2 separate regions of the Homo sapiens genome follow, and region 1 is linked to region 2. Evidence: promoter capture Hi-C in human tissues and cell types (Jung and others, 2019). All regions are on one chromosome and are shown on one strand. Each heading gives the region's core, a stretch centred on a gene start or on the middle of the fragment in contact. The rest is flanking DNA. Distances are from core to core; before and after follow the strand shown.

Region 1 (5,377 bases), core at 2,093-4,592, 50 kb after region 2:
GGACAAAAACAGACACAATATATAAAATAATGATTTTCAGATGAAATTAGTTATCCATTGCTGAGTAAAAAGTTACTCCAAAACTTAGCAGCTTGAAACAACACACAATTTTTTGTCTCACCATTCTTGTGGTTCGGGAATCCAGGCATGTTTTAACTCGGTCCTTGGGCTCAGGGTCTCTCATAAGGCTGCAATCAAGGCATTCAGTGCTGTGGTCTCATCTGAATGCTCAACTGGAAAAGGATCCATTTCTAAGCTCACTCAGGTGGTTGTTGGCAGGATGCAGTTCCTTGTGGGCCACTGGACTGAGGGCCTCTGTTACTCGCTGGCTGTTTGCCAAAGGCTGCCCTCAGTTCCTTGCCATCTGGTCCTCTACAACATGGCAGCTTGCCTCATCAAAAGCCAGCATGAGTCTGCTGCAAGTTAGGTCACAGCCTTCTGTAACCTAATCTTAGAAGTAACATCCTATCACACTTGCTTTATTCTATTTGTTAGTCACTTGATCCAGCCCACTCTCAAGAGGAGGGGGTTATATAAGTACAAATGCCAGTAGGCTGGTGTATTAGTCTGTTCTCACACTGCTCTAAGGAAATAGCCAAGACTGGGTAATTTATAAAGAAGAGAGGTTTAGTTGACTCACAGTTCCTCATGGCTGGGGATGCCTCAGGAAACTTACAATCATGGTGGAAGGTGAAGGGGAGGCAAGCTGGGACTTCTCACATGGCAGCAGGAGAGAATGTGAGTGCACAGGAAAAACTACTATTTATAAAACCATCAGTTCTTGTGAGAATTCACTCATTATCACAAGAACAGCATGCAGGAAACTACCCCCATAATCCAATCACTTCCGTTCCTCGACACATGGAGATTACAGGTCCCTCCCTTGACCTGTGGGGATTACAATTCGAGGTGAGTTTTGGGTGGGGACACAGAGCCAAACCATAACAGCTGGGATCATTAGGGGCCATCTTAGAAGGTGCCTACTACACAGATGTTGAACAGCAGATATCAAGAGACTGTGATTCCTGACAGAGGGTAAACAAATAAGGTCAGCTGAATAATTGTACCAGTTTATTGCTTAGGAGGCAATTTAGACTGCAGTGCAGAGATGAGGAAATCAAAATTCAGTAGTCTCTTTGAGGTAAAAACACAGGAAGAGGAGTTCAGGGAGGCTGAGGCAGTAAAATATTGTTGGTCAAAGTACTAGTTGCCCAGAGAAAAAGCTCACGAGATCTATAGAGGGGTCCTCTTGAGTCTTTGGCTGCATACCCATCTGTGTGTGTCTGAGCAGAAACTATCTGAGGCCAGGAAAATAACCATCAGGATATTTAGGCAGAACAATTCCCAGAGTTTATACAGAGTAAGAGTGGAAAGTACTCATAATCTATAAGTTGTAGGATGGAATCAGATATTCTTTAGCCCCATACTACTAAAGGCCACTCTTTTAATTTAGCAAAACTTAAAATGAAGTCTTTAAAAGATTCGAATGATTCCAAGTAAATTAATTGTACACCAGGACAAAAATCCAACACTATTAAAAAGAATACCACAAAATCCAGCAATCAACAATGTAACCAATAACCAATTAACAGGCTTACAATAAAGTAGGAAAATAAGAACTAAATGCATGAGAAAACTCGATTAACAGAAATAGCCTGAAATGACAGAGATGGTGGAACTAGCAGACAAGAATCTGAAAAAAAAAATGTTAGAACAGCTATTATAAATATCCTGTATATGTTTAAGAAGATAAAGGAAAACATGACCATGATATGGAGAAAAAAATTAATTATATAAAACAGATCCAAATAAACTACTGAAGAAAAAAACTAACATCTTAAATAAAAAATACACTGTGTAGAATTAATAGTAAATAGACACTGAAAAGGAAAGAGCAATAAATTTTAAGGCATAATAATGGAAATAACCAAAATGAAACAGAAAAACAAATGAAAAAATAAGAAGAGGGTAATAGTGACCTGTGGGACACTATCAAGTGGGCCAATATATGTGTAATTAGAGCCTCAGAAAAAAAGAGGGGAGGGAACAAAAAATATTTAAACAATGGTCAAAATTTTCCAAATTTAATAAAACCTATAAACTTTCAGATTCAAGAAGCTCAATTTATTCAAGCAGAATGAAATAAAGAAAATATACTTTGCCACATTATAATTAAATTACTAAAATCAATTGATAAAGAAAAAATTTTTTAAAGTAGCCAGAGAAGAAAGATATGTAAAAAGGGATAATGACAAGAATGGTATCAAGCTTCTTACAAGAAACTATGCAAGTCAGAAGACAATGGTAAGCCATCTTTAACATATGAAAAGAACAAAATGTCAATCTAAAAATCTTTCCTGGGGAGGTGGGGATGGTTAATGAGTATAAAATATAGTTAGAATGAATGAATAAGACCTACTATTTAATACCACAACAGGGTGACCATAGTTGATAACAACTTAATTGTACCTTTAAAAATAATGTAATTGGATTGTTTGTAACACAAAGAACAAATGCTTCAGGGGTTGGATACCCCATTCTCCATGATGTGATTATTACGCATTGCAGGCCTATATTAAAACATCTCATGTACCCCATAAATATACACACTTACTATGTAGCCACAAAAATTAAAAATAAACTAATTTAAATAAAAATAAAAAATCTTTACTCATAAAAATATCTTCAAATTTGAAAGCAAACTAGAGATATTTTAAACAACTAAAATTCATTACCAACAAACATGAATTATAAGCAAAATTAAAGGAAGTTCAATGATACCAGATGGAAATCCATAAAGTACTAAAGAGAGCCAGAAATGGTAAGTATGTGAGTAAATACAAAATATTGCTTTTATCTCTTTTTAAAAATCGTATACAAAAAATATTGACTGTTTAAAGTAAAAAAAAAATATTCTAAACATGTAAAACAAACCATATGAAGAAGTAAAATTTATAGCAACAATTACACATAGTGAAAGTACAGAAGTGCAAGTAACGGGTACAAGGTTCATAAACCATATGTAAAATGGTATAATATTATTTGACATTAGTCTTTGATAAAATAAAAATGTATACTGTAAACATTAGAATAACCATTAAAAATAAATAAAACAAACAGGTATCACTAAGAAGCCAAGAGTGGAAATAAAATGAAATCATTTAAAAAGTATTAATCTAAAAGAAGACTGGAAATAGAAAAGAAATGAGTAGATAGAACAAACATAAAAACAAATAGTCAAATATTATATTTAAGCCCATCCATAGAAATAATTACATTAAATGTAAATAGCCTAAGTACTTTAATTAAAAGGCAGAGATTTTAAGAAAAAGAGCAAGACCCAACTGTGTGATGCCTTTACAAAAAAAAAAAGAAACTAACTTTAAATGTACAGACAAAAATAGGTTAAGAGTAAAAGAATTGAAAAATATTTACCATGCAAACACTAAGTACAAAAAGCCAGAATAGCTGTGTTAGTATCAGACAAAATAGACTTTAGAGCAAGCTTGTCTAAATCATGGCCTGTGGGCTGCATGCAGCCTAGGATGGCTTTGAATGCAGCCCAGCACAAATTTGTAAACTTTCTTAAAACATTATGAGGTTTTTTTTTTTTTTTTGCTATTTCTTTTTTTAGTTCATCAGCTATTTTTACTGTTAGTGTATTTTATATGTGGCCCAAGACAATTCTTCTTCCAGTGTGGTCTAGGGAAGACAAAAGATTGGACAGTCCTACTTTAGAGCAAGAAATAATACATTTCATAGTAAGGAGAGGATAATTCACAGAAAGACATAAAAATCCTAAAGGTATATGCATATAATAATAGACCTTCAAAATACATGAAGTATAATAAAACTGATAGAACCAAAAGAAGAAATAGATAAAACCAAAATTATATTGGAGATTTTAAAATTCTAATCTTAGTCATTGATAAAACAAGTAAACAGGAAATAATAAAGGTATAGAAGACTTAATCAACACCATCAACAAATTAACATAATTGATTCTGTTTGAAACTATGTTTAATAGTCACCCAATAATAGCAGAATACATATTTTTAAAGCACACATTGAAATTCACCAAAATAGATAATATTCTGAGCCAAAACAAGTCTTTAATAAATTGAAGTCACATGACATATGTTTTCTGACCACAAAAGAATGAAACTAGAGATAAATACCAAAAAGATATCTGGGAAATGGTCAAATATTTAGAAATTATACAATACTTCTAAATAACAAATGAAAACAAAGAAGAAACTATAAGAGAAATGAGAAATATTTTTAAATGGAATAAAAATGAAAACAAAAAATATCAAAATGTGTGGGATGCAGTTTAAAATGTCCTTGGAGGGGAATTTATAGCATTAAATGCTTATGTTAGAAAAGATAAAAGATCTCAATTTAATTATCTAAGCTTCTCATCTTAATAAACAAGAAAAATAAGAGCAAATTGTAACTAAAATAAGTAGAATAAAAGAAATAAAAAGACAAGAGCAGAAATAAATGAAACAAAAAAAAAAACTGGAGAAAAATCAGTGAAACAAAAATGTGGTTATTGAAAAGATCAATAAAATTGATAAGGCTCTAGCCAGACTGATTACTTTAAAAATATATAACACAAATTACCAATATCAAGAGTTATCTTATGAATGTTAAAAGGATAAGAAAATATTATGCATAATTTTTACCAATAATTTTGACAACTTAGATTAGTAGGATCAATTCCTTGAAAGATAAAAATAATCAAAGCTCATCCAAAAGGTAGACCATTTGAACAGTCTATCTAGAAAAGTAACTGAATTTGTAATTTGACCTTCTCACAAAGAAAATGTCAAACCTAGACTGTTTCATTGATGAACTCTACCAAACACTTAAGAAAGAAATAATACAAATTCTATTCTAGTATTTCCATTTTAAGAAGTCAGCATTGTCTTAATTTTAATACCAAAACAAAAACATTCAAAGAAAGGAAAGCAACGGAACTAATATCCCTCTTAAATAAAGGTCCAACAATAATAAAATTTTAATAAGATTTTAGCAAATTAAACCCAGCTATATATACAATGTATAATATATCGTGACCATGTGGATATCATTCCAAGAATGTAATGTTAGTTTAACTTTGAAAATCAATTAATGTAACCCACAATATTAGCAAACTAAAAACAAACTGAAAAACCAAACATATGGTGATCTCAATAGATGTCAGGAAAAGATTTGACATAATCCAGCATCTAAGAATAATAACTCACAGCCAGATAGAAATAGAAAGGAACTTCTTTAGCCTGATAAAGGGCATGTACAAAAAACTCTACAGCTAAAATCATGCTTAAAATCATGCAGAAAGGCAAGAAAAGAAATAAAAGGCATATAGATT
Region 2 (5,291 bases), core at 1,111-3,610:
GAAAACATAAAGCAACTAACTACTCTCCACCAGCGGCAATACTAAATTAGGAACTATTGGTGAATCATTAAGTTAGGGTACACCCCCAGCTTCCCAATGCCAGTGTGCTCATCTGTAGAAGTGGAGGCAGAAGTTAAGGGGCAAACACGTGGCACATGCCCCGCACCTTGAAAGGGAGATGTAATCAGCGAGGAAGGCTGGGGCAGTACAGGGTTTGATCATCTCCGCTAGGATGTAGCTCTGCGGTGGGTGAGGAACTCAGCAAACTCCTGACATCCCGCCGCTAGGATCGATTTGGAGCTATGGATTCATCTGAAATTCCTGATTCGAAACAGGAGTATGAGAGTGAAAATGAAATTTACCTTGAAGCTCCTCCTTTTACAGATTATGGAACTGAACCTCAGAGGAGTGAAATGATATACCCAAGGTCTCACCACTCAGTAGCAGAGGCAGTTCTAGAAAGCAGGCCTCCAGACCCTTATCCAGGATCCTTGCAATGGGGGCTTAGGGGAATTAGGGAATGGGTCATGGTTACTGCAAGTGGCTTGGCCAAGAACCAGCTAAGCAGCTAAGGCTTGTTCCATCTCTGCCAAGCTAGGACTCGCCTCCTCTCAACCTTGTGCCACATCCAGTTTTTGCTTCCAGGCTGGGGGCCTCTGATTGCTTACTCTAAGGGACAAAGGCAATTATTTACTAAAGCTAACCCCATCCAAGATGAGGAAAATACAACACTGGCACTCAGGAATTAATTTCACAATAAGTCTATGTTAAGGTGATGTTTTATTTGTGGCCCTGCCTGATCAAGATGACTTCCCCACAAGAAACGTCCAAAGCAAACAATCTTTTTTTTTTTTAAACTGAGTCTGGCTCTGAGACGTGAAGAATTGTACACTTCTTTAACTGTCCTCCAAAAGCAGAAAATAAGCCGGACAGAGCAGCCAGAAGGACACCAGAGTCCTATGCTCAGTGTGTCAGGAAGCGACCCACAAGTTCTGGAGGAACATCCTTCCAGGAAACTGGGCAGATACAGATCCCCCACCCCGCTCCGCCCCGCAAAAGGTAAGACGATCTGTACTCGGTTTGGTGACAAGCGTTCATCTGGACAAGCTGGAAACAAGTCTGAACGGGAGCTGCAGGCGCGCACGCCAGCGCCACCGAGGGAGCGCGGGGAGTCCTCTTCTCCCAGAGGACCGACGCTGCGGGGACGCGCCAAAACCACCCGCGGGCGATCCCAGGGGGCTGGCGCCACTGAAACCTCCGCAGGCAACTCCGCGGCTACCGCTGCCCCCCACCCTACTCCTGCCTCTTACCCCCAAGGCACCATTTCTCCCCCTCAACTCCCTGCCCCTCGGCCCAAGCGCTTCGGTGGGAAACAACGCCCACTTTGGAGAATCAGAGGTGAGTTGTGGGGACACGCCAGATGTCCAGATCGCATCCTTTCACAGATCAACCAAGTCAGATACAAACACGAAGGAGTTTGCTTCTCTGACATTTTAAAAACACACCATCAGGCAGCACACTGAGACACACACACGGGGGTAACAGCCACAGGGAAGTCAATAACCCACAGGGGGGCTCCTAACTATCGTTGTCCCGTGCTCGGGGCAGAGCGCTTGGGGTCCCTCCCTATCTCCAGGCCACAGCGCTCTCCTGCCCACTGCCTGTGCGCAGGATGGGAAACTACGGTCGCCCGGCTGCCGGAACCCAGAGTGGGCAAGCTGGGGAAAGGCCCACCTCCTCGTCCTGCTCCTCCTGGGACGCGCTGCTGCCCCGGGGCGCGGGCGGCACAGCTCCTCCGGGAAGCGGCGGCGGCAGCGCAAGGACTCCGCGCTCCAGCAGCACGCTTGCCGGAGCCCACGCGGCGGGCGCCCGGGCGCCCAGGGTGCCTCCCAACGGCGGCGGCGGCGGCGGCTGATGCTCTCTGGAGAAGCCGCCGGGCTCCCCTTCCTCCGACAGAGTTTCTGAGCCCGAGGAGGACTCGGCCGAGGAAGCACCCGGAGAGGACGCGGCGACCAGCGCAGAGGCTGGAGTCCGGCTGCCGTGGCCACTGCAGCCGCGGGGCACCGGCTCTGGCGCCTCCGAAACTTTCTCCCCCATTTCCCTGTCTGGCCCAAAGTGCCTCCCGAGCGGCGGGGGCGCGGCGCGCACTCAGCGCCTCCCGGGGAAGACGCGGGCTCCTGGGCTCAGGCTCACTGGCACTGCCGCTCCCGGGCTGCAGGGAGCCCCGCCAGCGACTACATGGCAGTGACGGGGCCGCAGGAGCCCGCTGCTAAGTTCACAGCCGCCCGGGCCCGGCCGCAAACGGAGGCTCCCGCGCGCGGGGACATGCCCGCTCGGGTCCGCGATCTGCGCTCCACTGTGCTCCCGCGCTGCACCCGAGCCGCGGGTACTGCGGCTTCTCCTTGCAAAACCTGCCTCCGGGACGGAGCAAGGAGACGGGCAGCCCGCAGAGCCAATGGCAGGGCAGGCGCGCTGGTGGGCGGAGGCTGCGACGCCTCCGGCCATGAGGGCCTCAGGTAGGGGAGGCGGGGCCCGGGCGCGGGCCGTGGTCCCGCTGGAGCGCCTGGGCGCAGGGGACAGGGACCAGGCGGGGGTCCCCGGAGGGTGGGGGCGGAGCCCAGAATCGGAGCCAAGGGCTGAGACTCCGAACTTAGCGGGGGAGTGGCTGACCGTCCTTGGGACGTCAGAGGGAGACGGCGAGCGGATGGTGAGACCTTGGAGAAGAACTGGACTTTGTCTCCAAAAAGTGGAATCAAGAAAACGGACAAGAAGGAGGGCTCTATAGGGAAAAAAGGAACCACACACACACAGTCACCCACGCACACGGACTCACCAGCGTGTTGGAGGAAAAGGACAGAAACTTCGTGGTATAGTGAGCGGACCCAAAGGGGAGTGACCTCTAATCTCTGCTTTTCCGTTTAAGCTCTTTGGGCCTCAGTTTCCTCAACTGTAAATGGCTACATTACTACTGGTCTTGGCAGGCTTAGAGCAAATATATATAATGCATCAGCAAAGTGCCTGGCTTGGATACACGGAGCGTTTTTAAAAGACTATTTCCTGTCTTTATTTCTGTTTGTAAACTAAAAAGTTAAGTCTGAGACTTGAACCTTTTGATAGGGAGGAAGATAAAAAAGTATGTCCTTGTATTTAATTAGGACCAAGCTCTGTAGTCCTACTCAAATTGTCTGTCTCGGTATGATCAGCTAAGCAGAGGATGAAAAGGATTCACTTTCCAATGTACATTCTCCTAGCCCTGGGTTGTAAACCAACAGGATACAGGACAGGTTGCTTCATTTTCCTTACCTCTAAGAACTAGGAGAAAGAACTTTCACTAAAGGTACCAATAGAGTACCCTTAAGTCCTTCCCTGGGGCTGGAGGATGCTGCCTGTCCGGTGACTGGAATTTCCTTGGAAGCCAGCACTCAGCTCAGCAGTGGGAAATAAATGATTCCTCTCTTGCCTTCAGCTCTAGTCCCATTCTGAGCTCTGGCACAGTGACCTGGGATGTAAATTCAACCGCCTCAGTTCCATGTACGTTGATGGAGATGTGTGCCAGGTGCAGGGGATACAAAGATTAATAAGTCAGGTCCCCTGCCCTTGAGCAGCTTATGGTCAAGCGAGAGATTGATACTGCATAATATAGCTCCCTTATCCATTTTAGAAGCTGTGATAAGTGATACAGGAAAAATGTGTGAGGGAGAAGAGGAAAGAGTTACAGAAAAACAGTAGCAGGTCCTTGAGCATCTTAGATTTCTCTTTGTCAGAGCAGCCTTGCCAAAGGTCCTTAAAAACTGGAGGACCCTAATTGAAAGCCCCTTCAGCTAATGAGCCTTTCATGCTATCATGGTATTTACAAGTGATACATCACACAGAGGGCTTCATCATATTGGACAGCAACCTTTGTCCTGATCAGTTTCCTCCCCTCAAGATGAAGGGGAAGGAAATACGTTTTGTCTATCTTGCTTCAGACAGCCATACTGCAAAATGGACTCCGGTTGTCAGGCTTTCATTGTGACGCTTCTGAATTATTCACAGGGATATGAAGACCTGCTGAGGCAAAAGGTCAAGTCTAGTGGCAGCTAAGTTGTGAGAGCAAGGCTAAAGAGAGAGCACAGTGGGGCAGTCCGAATTTAACCCGGGCCTCACAATTACTTTCCTATTTAGGAGTTCTGGTCTTTATCTGAGCCCCTACGTGGTTGATTCACCAGAGCTGAACTGAAATGACAATTTCAGCCATGCACATAAAAGAAGAGGAGGAGTTGCTTTTCAGTACATAGGGAAATAAGAAGCAAGGTCATGGTCTGAATAACCGACAGCAAGAATGACAATAGTTATTATCGCCTGAGTCCTCTGCATCTTCTCTGGATGGTCTCATTTAATCCTGGCAACAACCTTGTGAAACAGATTCTATTAGTCCCACTTTATTGATTAAGAAACTGAGGATCTGCAAAGGTCACACAGCAAGTAAGCAGTGGAGCTGTGGTTTGGAACCCAGCAACCTGATTCCAAGGCTGTCTTTCCTAGGCATTCTAGTATTAATACAATGCCACTCAAAACAGACAGCTTTTTCAAATATATATATATACCATATTATAAATATCCATAGGGAAGAAACTTTGCTGTATTGATTCAATCTGTAAAAGAAAATACTTGAGGAACATATTTGTTTTTCCCACAAACATTTTTAAGGTACTTACTATGTGCCAGGCAGGATTTTAAGCACTTTAAAATGTTAATATACTCAATTCTCATACCAGCCCAATGAGGTAGCTACTATTACTATTCTCATATCATATTTGTGAAATATGTGAAAACTATGACAGAGAAGTTAAGTAATTCAGCTAAAGTCACACAGCTAGCAAATGATGGACCCAGGATTCAGATTTGAACATTTGGTCCCAGCATTTGTGCTCTTAACCTCTACAGATCAAAGTCAAGTACTAGATCAGTATTTCTTGAACTTTTTAAACCTGAACCTCAAATAAGAAATATATTTCACACTGGAACTCATGACACATATGCATATGTACAAATACAAATAAAATGTCATGAGACAATACTTACCCATCCTTTAAGCAATGCACCCTGAAATTTATATTTTATTAAAAATAAAGATGCTAGTTGTAGTCCACTAAATAGATTTCAAACTCTACTTCAAAACTTGCAGTTTAAAAGTGTACTTGTTCATCTCCACACCCACCTGTGAGGGAAATAAACTGTAGTTCAGGCTAAGAGTATCCAGACCAGAACATGGCCAACTCAAAGGATAACTATAAATAGAAGATGACTAG

Evidence for each region. Contacts are between HindIII fragments. The study calls those that stand out against the background at their distance.
Region 1: a fragment that was not itself captured here is called in contact with the fragment with the promoter of MAST4 in region 2 in 1 of the 25 tissues and cell types used here (liver).

What each region holds. Positions count from the first base shown.
Region 1 is chr5:66,544,698-66,550,074 of GRCh38, reverse strand. No RefSeq gene overlaps it. Among named protein-coding and RNA genes, the nearest start is that of LINC02229, 36 kb to the right of the region's middle. The HindIII fragment of the contact is 4,535 bases long and covers 1,075-5,377 here.
Region 2 is chr5:66,593,462-66,598,752 of GRCh38, reverse strand. MAST4 (microtubule associated serine/threonine kinase family member 4) reads right to left here and starts at 2,360. Exons shown (of 29, transcript NM_001164664.2): 1 at 1,735-2,360. The coding sequence starts at 2,097. RefSeq lists silencers at 1,615-1,764, 1,775-1,914, 2,525-2,724. The HindIII fragment of the contact is 9,602 bases long and covers 1-5,291 here.